2 separate regions of the Homo sapiens genome follow, and region 2 is linked to region 1. Evidence: promoter capture Hi-C in 16 types of primary human blood cells and fetal thymus (Javierre and others, 2016). All regions are on one chromosome and are shown on one strand. The core of a region is centred on a gene start or on the middle of the fragment in contact, and the rest is flanking DNA. Distances in the headings are between cores, read along the strand shown. Region 1 holds the start of HNRNPC (heterogeneous nuclear ribonucleoprotein C). Region 2 overlaps PARP2 (poly(ADP-ribose) polymerase 2).

Evidence for each region. The method cuts DNA at HindIII sites, captures the fragments that hold promoters and counts their contacts. A CHiCAGO score of 5 or more calls a contact.
Region 2: a contact is called between a fragment that was not itself captured here and the fragment with the promoter of HNRNPC in region 1, in 1 of 17 cell types (monocytes). The highest score is 9.2, in monocytes.

The regions. Positions count from the first base shown.
Region 1 is chr14:21,266,808-21,273,536 of GRCh38, reverse strand. HNRNPC (heterogeneous nuclear ribonucleoprotein C) reads left to right here and starts at 4,095. Exons shown (of 9, transcript NM_004500.4): 1 at 4,095-4,239. RefSeq lists enhancers at 3,366-3,991, 4,095-4,354, 3,992-4,616, 6,116-6,695, 6,696-6,729 and a silencer at 3,925-4,004. The HindIII fragment of the contact is 8,584 bases long and covers 1-6,729 here.
Region 2 is chr14:20,345,045-20,351,643 of GRCh38, reverse strand. It overlaps PARP2 (poly(ADP-ribose) polymerase 2), which reads right to left. Exons shown (of 16, transcript NM_001042618.2): 2 at 6,557-6,599; 3 at 6,180-6,250; 4 at 4,731-4,781; 5 at 1,022-1,118; 6 at 522-597. Among named protein-coding and RNA genes, the nearest start is that of PARP2, 4.7 kb to the right of the region's middle. The HindIII fragment of the contact is 2,313 bases long and covers 1,341-3,653 here.

The DNA of each region.
Region 1 (6,729 bases), core at 2,846-5,345:
TCAGCTCACTGCAACTTCCACCCCACTGGGTTCAAGTGATTCTCCTGCCTCAGCCTCCCAAGTAGCTGGGGTTACAGGCGCCTGCCACCACGCCCAGCTAATTTTTTGTATTTTTAGCAGAGATAGGGTTTCACCATGTTGGCCAGGCTGGTCTCGAACTCCTGACCTCAGGTGATCCACCCACCTCGCCTCCCAGAGTGCTGGGACTATAGGCGTAAGCCACCGCTCCAGAGATTGCAATGAGCTGTGATCGTGCCACTTCACTCCAGCCTGGGGGAAAGAGTGAAACTCCATCCCCACCCCCACCCCCCAAAAATAAATAAATAAAATAATAAAATAATTGATATATGATACTGAAAAACTGGAAACAACTTCAATGTCTTGAAGAGGGGATTGGTTTTTAAAAATGATATTGGGGACGGGCTTGGTGGCTCAAGCCTGTAATCCCAGCACTTTGGAAGGCCGAGGTGGGTGGATCACCTAAGGTCAGGAGTTCAAGACCAGCCTGGCCAACATGGTAAAACCCCGTCTCTACTAAAAATACAAAAATTAGCCCGGCGTGGTCGTGGGCGACTGTAATCCCAGCTACTCGGGAGGCTGAGGCAGAAGAATCGCTTGAACGTGGGAGGCGGAGGTTGCAGTGAGCCAAGATCACGCCACTGCACGTCAGCCTGGGTGACAGAGCAAGATTCGGTCTCAGGAAAAAAAAAAAAAGATATTAACCGGGTGCGGTGGTTCAGGCCTGTAATCCCAGCACTTTGGGAGGTGTGTCGGGCAGACTGCTTGAGCACAGGAGTTCAAGACCATCCTGGCCAACGTGGCAAAACTACATCTTTACTAAAAATACAAAAATTAGCCAGGCATGGTGGCGGATGCCTGTAGTCCCAGCTACTCAGGAGGCTGAGGCATGAGAATCGTTTGAACCTGGGAGGCAGAGGCTGCAGTGAGCCGAGATCGCCCCGTTGCACTCCACCCTGGCCAACAAGAGCGAAATTCCATCTCAAAAAAAAAAAAAAAAGTATAAAGCAGTGTTAGCTAAAACGAGAGAGCTCTATAAAATTTTATTTTATTTTATTTTATTTTTGAGACAGTTTTGTTTACTTAAGTCAAGAGGCCAGACGTGGGTCAGCCTGTAATCCCAGCACTTTGGGAGGCCCAGGCCGGTGGATTGCTTGAGCACAGGAATTTGAGACCAGCCTGGGCAAGACGGTGAAACCCCATCTCCACAAAAATTAGAAAACTTAGTGAGTCTGGTGGCACACGCCTGTAGTCCCAGCTACTCAGGAGGCTGAGGTGGGAGGATCTCTTGAGCCCAGGAGATCGAGGTTGCAGTGAGCCTTGATGGTGCTACTGCACTCCAGACTGGGCGACAGAGTGAGATCCTGTCTCAAATAATAGTAATAATAATAACATAAATTACATGTCAACCAGACCCGACAGACTCCAGGCCTCTCTGAGTAAGTGCTACATAAAACATACAACAAACAAAAGACAGGGCCTGGCGCAGTGGCTCACGCCTGTAATCCCAGCACTTTGGGAGGCTGAGGCAGGAGGATCACGAGGTCAGGAGATCGAGACCATCCTGGCTAACACGGTGAAACCCCGTCTCTACTAAAAATACAAAAAAAATTTAGCCGGGCGCGGTGGCGGGCGCCTGTAGTCCCAGCTCCTCGGGAGGCTGAGTGAGGTAGGAGAATGACCTGAACCCGGCGAGGCGGAGCTTTCAGTGAGAGCCGAGATTGCGCCGCTCCATTCCAGCCTGGGCGACAGAACAATACTCTGTCTCAAAAAAAAAAGAAGAAAAGAAAGAAAAGACAGGGCTGGCATGGTGCCTCCCAGCATTTTGGGAGGCCAAGGAGGGAGGAATGCTTGAGCCCAGGAGTTCAAAACTAGCCTGGGCAACATGGTAAGACGCTGTCTCTACAAAATATAAAAATAAAATTAGCCAATGTGGTGGTGCACACCTGTGGTCTCAGCTACTCCAGAGGCTGAGGTGGGAGGATTGCTTGCGACTGGGTGGTTGAAGCTGTAATCATCCGGGATTATGCCAATGCACTACAGCCTGGGCAACAGAACAAGACCTCATCTCAAAAGAAAGAGAGAGAAAAAAAGGACAGTCTATCTGCTTGTCCTGGAAAAATAAAAATTTCCCCTGATAAATAAAAGTTAATGGTTAATATTTTATTAATTTATTAATAGGTAGTAAACAAGGAAAATATATTGAAGAGTAAGAATTAAACTCTGCCATCAAAAAATCTTACCATCCAGGAAGGGAGAGGAGTGTAAAACTACCCACAGTGCTACGAGATAATTTTAAATAAATTGCAATGTGGCAATTGAGTCGAGGCTTTAAGCACTCGTAGGATATTCTCCCTCTGATTACTTGCTCAAAGTAGATGATTTGGAAAATATAGAAAAGTACAATAAGATTTTAAGGCTGGGCGCGGTGGGTCACGCCTGTAATCCCAGCACTTAGGAAGGCTGAGGCGGGCGGATCACGAGGTCAAGAGATGGAGACCATCCTGGCCAACATGGTGAAACCCCGTCTCTACTAAAAATACAAAAATTAGCTGGGCGTGGTGGCACGCACCTGTAGTTCCAGCTACTCGGGAGGCTGAGGCAGGAGAATCGCTTGAACCTAGGAGGCGGAGGTTGCAGTGAGCCAAGATGGCGCCACTACACTCCAGGCTGGTGACAAAGCGAGACTCCGTTTGAAAAAAAAAAAGTTAAAAAAAAAAATCACATGTAATTTTCCCACCAGGAGAGAACCACTACTAACACTTTAGTGTATACTTTCTCCCATATTTTTCGTCTTTGCTTTTTAAAATAGTTTAAAGTGGTCTGGCGTGGTGGCTCACGCCTATAATCTTATCACTTTGGGAGGCAGAGGCGGGCGGATCACCTGAACAGTCTGGCCAACATGGCGAAACCCCATCTGTACTAAAAATACAAAAATTAGCTGGACATGGTGGCGCGCACCTGTAGTTCCAGCTACTCAGGAGGCTGAGGCAGGAAAATCGCTTGAACCCGGGAGGCGGAGGTTGCAGTGAGCCAAGATCGCGCCACTGCACTCCAGCCTGGGCGACAGTGACTCTGCCTCAAAAAAAAAAAAAAAAAAAAAAAAAAAAGAAAAGAAAAAAGAAACCGCTGGCTTAGTAGAGCTGATGCTACCCCACTGCGTGCGCAGTTCCTATAATGTAACCAGAGAGACTGGCAGGTGACGGGGGTAGGTAGGAGACAAGCCATTTCAAGAGGAGGGAAATTAAGGGACCAGATTTGGAAGGATGGGCCAATTTTGCTGGCACTTAAGATATTAGATGCCCTGGGGCCAGAGGCCAGGATTCTGCACTTCCTTTTTATATTGGAGAGGAATAAGGAAGTCAGTTGGTTTCGATGGAACATGTGTTGTCTGAAGAAGGGTTTAATAGGCCAAGAAGCAGATGTCTACGAGGTAGCTGACATTCGAATCTGGAACTGAGAAAGGGTCTGGGGTTGGAAAAACTGCAGGACTGGTTAGTTTTCTACACACTTTAACAAGGCCTAGTCACTGCTGCTCCCTCCTCATTTTAAGAAAAGTCCTTTCTTTATTCACATTGCACAACGGAGGCTTCATTTCGCGCTTTTTTTTCCCTAGGCCCGGGGCTGGGGCAGGTCTTTTGCGCCCGTCACCTAACTACGCCCCTCAACCCTTTCCCCGCCCCCGCGCAGCCGGAAATCCGAGGTCTGGGCGGATCTTCTACTAGGCACTCTAAGGGGCAGCGATAGGACGCCGCGGCCGCCAATCAGGCCTCCCAGATACCCGGATGTGAGACGGTGCGCGATACAAAGGCGAGTTTCCACCCAGAGGGTCGTCCCGTGCAATAGCCAATAAGCATTCTCCAGGCAATAAATGACAGGAAAACTAACCAGTTATAAACTAGTTTCTCTCACGCATGTGGAAATTCGCCTGCTTAGTCTAACCCACTGCTAATTGTGATTGGATATCATTGTGAGGAGCGGTTGAACTGTCTAATTAGGAGCGGGAGCGAAAAAACGCACAGCCAATAGGAAGATTCTCAGGAATGGGGCGGGGACTAGGCCTTCGCCTCGGCGGCAGAGGAGACTCGGGGGCCATTTTGTGAAGAGACGAAGACTGAGCGGTTGTGGCCGCGTTGCCGACCTCCAGCAGCAGTCGGCTTCTCTACGCAGAACCCGGGAGTAGGAGACTCAGAATCGAATCTCTTCTCCCTCCCCTTCTTGGTAAGTGGAGAGGGCGGACGCAGGGAAGGCGCTGGGTTTTTCGGGAAGCGAGAGGGGGTGTGGGAGAGAAGATGTGGGAATCCTTCCCCCTAACTAACCGGGCCCTCATTTATTCTGCTTGTTTTGGGGGATTAGGTTGAAGCCGGGGGCAGTTTTATAGGCCTCAGCCTCTGTATAGGTTTAACCTGGTGTCCTCTAGGCCACGATCGCCAGGGAAAATGTCCTTTTTTCGCTCTTCCTGTGTTAACGGCTGCTTTCCTTTCATTTTCTACGACCGCGAGGACTACGGGATCATGAAAATGAAGATCGTGATGCTCATTAATATAGTCGAAGTTAACGTAGCGCCGATGCCTTCTATTACCTCCGTTCTTCTTACATGTAAAAAGTGGGGGAGGGGAAGGGGGAAGGTTACCAAGTAGATGTATCGCGAGCCTTTAAATCCTGGATCGTGCCGCGTGGCCTACGAGAAAGGTTTAACAAAAGATTCAGCATTTTACTGATAACTTTTTATTTTATTTCTCTCTATGAGCAAATGATGGAGCTCGAAGTAGTTATTTTCACTTACATTTGTAAAAGGAAATATTGTGATATAACTATATTAATATTTACAGCTGACTTTTCATCTGCAGGTTACAAAACACTTGAAATATATAAGTTAGTGGAACTTTGCTTGAGGTAGGTATTAACTCTCTTTCTCAGACGGAAACTGAGGCAGAAAAGTGTTGGTTGCTAGGGTCATATTAAGTCAGTAGCAGCACTAGTAAGGAATTTGACCACGAGGTCAGTCGAGTGGTTTTTACCTAGTTAATGGAATACCTAGTTAATATAGTTCTAAAACTACTGTATTGCAATCTTTGCCAAGAACCTGATGACGGAAACCACGAGGTAACTGGAAATTCCCAAATTGCGCTTAAGAAAAATACTACGAGACTTGAGAATTTTTTAACGTAACTTCCTAAGTGTAAGATGACAAAATTTGACTTTCGGGATATTCTGGCGTTAATTTTCCCGTCCGCCTAAATGTGGGCAAAAATTCACAGCTACGTTATATTAAGCAAATATTAACAGTGCCTATTATTTGCTGGGTGCTGAAATTTGATAAAAAACTTAAAAGTTAAAAAAAATTGTTTAGATCTTTAGTGTCACATTGACTTATCTGGGACATCGCTTTTTTTAATCCTCACATGAGATTTGGCTAAGTTTATTTTTCACAATCTGTTAATCTCACAAAAACTAAAGCTGTTAAGCACAGTTTAAACCCATTCTGCAGGGTAAGAAATTCATCTGTAAGGCAATCTATTTGATAGGAAGTAAAATAAGGGTCAAAAACATCGCGACCCCTTTCTTAAGGCTTAAACATGTATATTATTACAGGAACTTAAAACTAAAGTTTATCATTGTGCTGAACTGTTAGAAATGAGGTTAGGGTAAAAATGGGAAATCATGAAGTAAAAATGTTGGCAAGGAGAAATGTCAGAAATTAGTATTTAAGAACTGTTAATAGTAGTTGAAATTGATTGACGGGCACTTTTCTTTGAGGTTTTCGAAAATGGGTTCCTTCCGGTCAGTATGTATATCAGCGCACCAAAAATTCTTTGAGTTAATATCCGAAACTGTTTGCCACGGTATTTATATCACAATTCTAGGTGTGTTCTCAACTAGATAGGCGTTTAGTAACATTTTCATATTGGCTAGGGGGAAAAGTTGAAGAAGGATGGCCAGGTTGCAGGTTTTCTGACCTTTTTTTTCCCCCTCATGCTAGTGCCACTCTCGGGAATACTTGGTGGTTGATGTTCCTTCTGTAGAGAATTTAAACAGCTTACGTTTGTAATTAAATCTCTAGAGGATTTGACATGGCATTCGACCTTGTTTTGGATGGAATGGCTGTGCGAAACAAGCAAAGAATAAACTCCAAAATAGCTAGTTGCTCTAATTTTAAAGACTAAGGGGCAAATTATTAAATCTTAATAAAGTGTTGAATGTGAGAGGTGTTGGCTGGGGAGTAAGTTTGCCTAGGAGTTAGGAGAAATAGATTTTAATCCTCCTTAGGCAAATAAGGGGACTTAGACTTTTTTTTAAAACCTATTTGAATTTTTAGTTTCTAATTCAAATTTTTTGTTGCCAGAAGCCTAAAAACTGTACAGATTGAGTTTTATTAAAAGCAGTTTTGTTTTTTTTTTTTTTTTTTTTTTTTTTTTTTTTGAGACGGAGTCTCGCTCTGTCGCCCTAGGCTGGAGTGCATGTCGTGGCACAATCTCGGTTCACTGCAACCTCCGCCTCCCGGGTTCAAGCGATTCTCCTGCCTCGGCTTCCCGAGTAGCTGGGATTACAGGCGTGTGCCACCGCACCGGGCTAATTTTTATATTTTTAGTAGAGACGGGGTTTCACCGTGTTGGCCAGGCTGGTCTCGAACTCCTGAGCTCAGGGAGTCCTCCTGCCTTGGCCTCCCAAGGTGCTGGTATTACAGGCGTGAGCCACCGCACCCGGCCC
Region 2 (6,599 bases), core at 1,248-3,747, 920 kb after region 1:
GTTTTTAGTGACTTTCAAGGTATTAGTTTGATTTAATCACTAAGGATGCAGTTTGGTGTTTCAACCACAGAATGTCAGGGTGAAAAGACATTAACATTTAGGCCAAATCACACCTATAAAACGAAAAGTTTTTTATAAGCCACACACTTATAAAATTCTTAGAGAAGGCAGGGCACGGTGGCTCACGCCTGTAATCCCGCACTTTGGGAGGCTGAGGCAGGCGGATCACCTGAGGTCAGGGGTTCGAGACCAGCCTGGCCAACATGGCGAAACCCCATCTCTATTAAAAATACAAAAATTAGCTGGGCGTGGTGGTGGGCGCCTGTAATCCCAGCTACTAGGGAGGCTGAGGCAGGAGAATCACTTAAACCCAGGAGGTGGAGGTTGCAGTGAGCTCAGATCATGCCATTGCACTCCAGCCTGGGCAACAAGAGTGAAACTGTCTAAAAAAAAATTTTTTAGAGAATATACATCTAAGAAGAGGAGGGTATATTTTTTTGTAGTCACTTTTCAGCACTCACTTCTTCTGAAAGATTTCCTTGGCCTTGTTGAGATTGCCTGAACAAGCCACCAGGCTGTGCTGTCCCATTTTCCCAACTGCAAAGGAAATGCCACACATAAGATAGTTCCCTAAGAGTAACAGGCCAGCTCTCCAAGATCTCTCTGCTTAACATCTGACAAACAGGCAGGAAAGGGAGAAGGGAAAGGTGAAAGGATTTAGGGAACTAATCATGTTGATACAAGTTACTTGCTAACTGCCATAGTCTATGAGCACTACTAGCAGTTCAACTATAGAAGAGTTTTCAGACTCAATGGGCTGCTCTTAGTTTTTCCAGTGGGAACTCTAAGGAGGATGCCTGCCATTCCCCAATTTCAAGATGCTCAACTTGATTCCTAAGGCTCTCCCAGACTTCAGAGCCTCTACTGACCCAATTTAAACCCAGAGAATCCTTTGGCCACCCACTAAGCTGCTTCTGACTTTCTGAATGCCAACTCATAAAATCTCAATAAAAATCATTACCTCGGCCCCATCTCATCCAAACACTGAAGTTCCTCTGGGCATCATCTTCTAATAGCTGAATCAGATAGTACTTGTTGTTGTTGAACTGGAGATTGGTCTATGTTGAGTGAAAACAAAAACAAAAAAAAGGAGTTTTGCAAATGGAAATCACATAAACCAATGACTCATCCTTCGTCACAGGTGCCAGTTATTTCCATAAGGAAAAGGATAGCATCAGGCAAGAAAATTAGATTCCTGTAAGATTAAAGATATAAAGAAGAAATAGGGCTTATACATTAAACTTTGGATTCTTAGGAATTAAAGTGGGAGCCTAGAAGCTTCCTAAAACCCTCTATCCAACCTCAAATATCCTACATTGAATGGCTCCTCCAGTTTTTTCCTGCCTCAGCTCCCTATTTAGATATTTTCTAAGCTATATGTGTTTTCCAGCTCCCAATCCACTCCCAATAATTATTTCCCAAATGAAAACAATTTGGATGCTCCAAAGGTCTAAACCTGTTATGCTCAACTGTTAAATGACTTACTCCTTGACAGTTCTACTCACAGCTTTTGTTTGTCAGCTGCAGAAATTTGACAATGAGCTGAGAGCAGGGCAATAATGGGAGGGGACAAGGGATACGCAAAACCACTGCCACATCCGTCCCATACCTAACCTGACCTGACTTGGAGATACTGAGAGAGAATATGGCCAGTATCTAAAAAGAGGTATCTGTAAGTAAATCACTCAGAGTGAAGAGAGAGAAGTCCATGATAAGGCATAGCAGCTGGTGTTGTATGGCCGAGCCCTGGATATGGAGGCATTCTTTTTTGTTAAGCATGCTGCCCCTTCCTACCTCTATCTCCTGCTTGCTCACATTCTAAAGCCATTGTACGACCTTAGCCCACTGGTGAAAAAAAAAAGGTCATTAGATGTTAGAACAAAAAGGAGCCTAAGATATTTTCTTTTTTTGAGACAGAGTCTTGCTCTGTCGCCCAGGCTGGAGTGCAGTGGTGCAACCTCCGCTCATTGCCACCTCTGTGTCCTAGGTTCAAGCAATTTCTTGTGCCTCAGCCTCCCTAGTAGCTGGGATTACAGGCACACGCCACCATGCCAGACTAATTTTTTTTTGTATTTTTAGTAGACATGGAGTTTCAACATGTTGGCAAGGCTGGTCTTGAACCCCTAACTCAAGTGATCTGCCCGCCTTGGCCTCCCAAAGTGCTGGGATTTTAGGCATAAGCCACCATGCCCAGCTTGATATTTTCTTTTCCTTTAAAAAATTTTTTTGTAAATGTTTTTATGGTTTTTATTTTTTATTTTTTTGAGATAGGGTCTCCCTCTGTCACCCAGGCTGGAGTGCAATGGCTCAATCACAGCTCACTGTAGCCTCAACCTCCCAGGCTCAAGCAATCCTCCCACCTCAGCCTCCAAAGTAGCTGGCCCATGCCCGGTGTTTTTGTATTTTTTTGTAGAGACAAGGTTTCACCATGTTGCCCAGGCTGATCTTGAACTCACACCTGAAGTGATTCTCCAGCCTTGGCCTCCGAAAGTGCTAGGATGACAGGCATGAGCCACCACACCTGGCTGCCTTAAGGTATTTTCCTTCTTTTCTTTTTTTTTTTGAGAAGGAGTTTTGCTCTTGTTGCCCAGGGCTGGAGTACAATGGTACGATCTCGGCTCACCACAAACTCCGTCTCCCAGGTTCAAGCAATTCTCGTGCCTCAACCTCCCGAGTAGCTGGGATTACAGTCATATGCCACCACACCTGGCTAATTTTGTATTTTTAGTAGAGATGGGATTTCTCCACATTGGTCAGGCTGGTCTTGAACTCCCGACCTCAGGTGATCCGCCCGCCTCAGCCTCCCAAAGTGCTGGGATTACAGGCGTGAGCCACTGCACCTGGCTAACCTTAAGGTATTTTCTATCTGCTCGTGGTATTTTAAGTAGAAGAAATAGTAAGAAATAAATACTAATTGGTTGTTAAAATTATATATGTTGGATCAATAAATTCAAACATGAAGTCATATCCAGGAAATATATTAATGAGGCAAATGTATTATCTACTCAAAACCACAAAGGTAAACAAGAGAAAAAGGTTGATTAAAAAGAAAGCTGAGCTTGGGGGCAGATGCCTGTAGTCCCAGCTACTTGGGAGGCTGAGGTTGGAGGATCACACGAGGTCACAAGTTCAAGGCCAGCCTGAGCAACATAGCAAGACACTGTCTCTAAAATTAAAAAAAAAAAAACCCAAAATTTTTTAAAAAGGAAAAATTAATAAATTTAACTACAGAAAAAATTTAAAACTTCAATATGGGCAAAAAGTGTACTATAAGGAAAACCAAAAGGTAAATGACAAATCTGGAAAACACAAGTGGTTTGTATTACAGACAAAAGGCTATTCTCCATATTATATAAAGTTCCTCGAAACCAGTAAGAAAAGGACCAATAACTTTAGAAAATGTGCAAAACAGCTTGTCCCAGTGGCTCATCCCTGTAATCCCAGTGCCTCATGAGGACAAGGCAGGAGGATCATTTGAGGCCAAGAATTCAAGACCACCTATCCAACATAGCGAGATTCTCATCTCCATAAAAAATTTAAAAATTAGTCAGGCTTTGTGGCATGCGCCTGAAGTCCGAGCTACTCAGGAAGCTTAGGTGGGAGGATTGCTGGAGCCCAGAAGTTCAAGGTTGCAGTGGGCTATGACTGTACAAACTGCACTCCAGCCTGGGTGACAGAACAAGATCCTGTCTGTTTAAAAAAAAAAAAAAAATGTGCAAAAGGATATGAACAGAGAGTTAACAATTTCAATAAATGATATGAAATTTGCAAAAAAAAATCTTCTCACAGAGGACTCTGCTATCTGATAAGAGTGTGCTAGGGCTGAGTACTCAGGTGTTTAACCACTAATGGCTAATATTAATATAAAGGACTTGCCGGGCGCAGTGGCTCATGCCTGTAATACCAACACTTTGGGAGGGTGAGGTGGGTGGATCACCTGAGGTCAGGGGTTCAAGACCAGCCTGGCCAACATGGTGAAACCCCATCTCTACTAAAAATACCAAAAAATTAGCCAGACACTGCACCTGTAGTCCCAGCTACTTGGGAGGCTGAGGCTGGAGAATTGCTTGAACCCAGGAGGCAGAGATTGCAGTGAGCCGAGATTGCACCACTGCATTCCAGCCTGGGTGACAGAGCAAGACTCTGTCTCAAAAAAAAAAAAAAAAAAAAAAAAAAAAAAAAAAATATATATATATATATATATATATATATATATATATATATATACACACACACATATGAAGGACTTTAGGCAAGGCGTGGTGGCTTACACCTGGTAATCCCAGCATTTTGGGAGGCTGAGGTGGGTGGATCACTTGAAGTCACGAGTTCGAGACCAGACCCTGGCTAACGTGGCGAAACCTTGTCTCTACTAAAAATACAAAAAATTAGCTGGGAGTGGTGGTGCACGCCTGTAACCCCAGCTACTTGGGAGGCTGAGGCAGGAGAATTGCTTGAACCTGGGAGGCAGAGGTTACAGTAAGCCGAGATTGTGCCACTGTATTCCAGCCTGAGAGATGAAGTGAGACTCCATTTCAAAAAGAAAAAACAAAATTTAAAAAAAAAAAAAAAAGGGACTTTAAAGATCTGAACACTGTGATGCTATCATCAATAATTATCAAGAAGATGGTCTCATAAATATAATGGTGCCACCTCTTCTTGCCTCTTACCTGATTTAGCATGACATCATAGACATCATTTCCTTCACAATACACATGAGCCTAGAAAGGGAGAGAGAGAAAAAATCAACATTAGTATAGGTTCAGCCCTGACATCCTAAATGAGGCTCTAAATTTTCTTATGGCTCAAGTCATCATTCTACAGCAACATCAACATTCATCTCCCAAGGAAAGAATTGCAAACCTATGTTCTACCAGTAACCTGGGTGTAACCTTACTATAAATGAAAACATGCTTCCTTTTTTTTAACTATACAAAAGATTCTGAGTTAGGCTGCGCATGGTGGCTCATGCCTGCAATCCCAGCATTTCGGGAGGCTAAGGTGGGCAGATCACTTGAGGTCAGGCATTCGAGACCAGCTTGGCCAACATGGTGAAGCCCCGTCTCTACTAAAAATATAAAAATTAGCCCAGGCTGGGCGTGGTGGTGGGCACCTGTAATCACAGCTACTTGGGAGGCTGAGGCAAGAGAATTACTTGAACCTAGGAAGTGGAGGATGCAGTGAGCTGAGATCACACCACTGCACTCCAGCCTGGGTGACCGAGTGAGACTCTATCTCAAAAAAAAAAAAAAAAAAAAAAAAGATTCTAACTGAGTTAAAGAAAACTTATTCCAGAGGTAGCCTTCTTTTTTCCCCATTCATCAGTAACTCATGCCATTCCAGGGTACAGTTTCTCATTAGAACAAGAAAACAGTTTTCCCTTAACAATGATACCATTTTCTGGTTTAAAAAGAGAATGAGGTGTAGAAGGCTGATGGCAACCACAAAAGGTACGCATGTGATATAGTTTGTATATTTGTCTCCTTCCAAATCTCATGCTGAATTGTAATCCTCAGTACTGGAGGTGGGGCCTGGTGGGAAGTGATTCAATCATGGAAGTGGATTTCTCATGAATGGTTTAGCACCACTGTCTTGCTGCTGTCCTCTTGATAGTGAGTGAATTCACACAAGATTTGGTAGTTTAAAAGCGTGTGACACCTCCCCATTCTCTCTTTCTCTCTCTGTGACACCTTCTCCAATCTCTCTCTCTCCCTTTCTCTCTGTCTCTCTCTCTCTCCCCTGCTTTTGCCATGTGACGTGCCTATTCCCGCTTCACCTTCTGCCATGAGTAAAAGTTTCCTAAGGTCTCCTGAGGAGCAGATACTGCTATGCTTCCTGTACAGCCTCTAGGAACCTCTTTTCTTATAAAATACCTAGTCTCAGGTATTTCTTTACAGCAATGCAAGAATGGTCTAACACACCATGTTAAAAAACACCCTGATTATTAACCCCAAGCCCTACCACTCCTATCTCTTGCCATTAGAGAAAACTACTCACTCATCATATTTTGGAGAGGATTCCTAAAATGAGTACTAACAGCATCCCAGACAGGAGTCCTTATAACAAAGGATGCTCTCTGAGATATCCATGGACTGAAGATCGGTTCCAGAGTCTCTTACCTTCCCCACCTTGGCTGTACACTCTGGGTCCACAGGAGCTTTGCCCTTTAACAGCAAGGCCTTCACAGATTCTGAGGAAAGACAGATAGGTACTACTTTATGGGAATCAAAAACAGCTGTTGTGGTAAAACAGAAACTTGTCAGGATTAACTTTGCCCGCCCAACCAATCCTGGTCTTTCCTTAGACCCCAATCCATCTCAAATACATGAAAATGAAGATTCAAGGCAGTAGATTAGTGCTGTGGTATGCCCAAAGGATAGAGAAATTAATTATTCCCTGAAAGAAGGACGAAATAGGAGTTGAAATAACAAGATATCATCCCCAGATCCACTCCTACCAGAGACCCTTTTGCTGGCCCATGACCTTCCTGGCATACCATCTTGCTTGTCTTCTGTCCTGTCCTTATTAGCTTTTCCTCC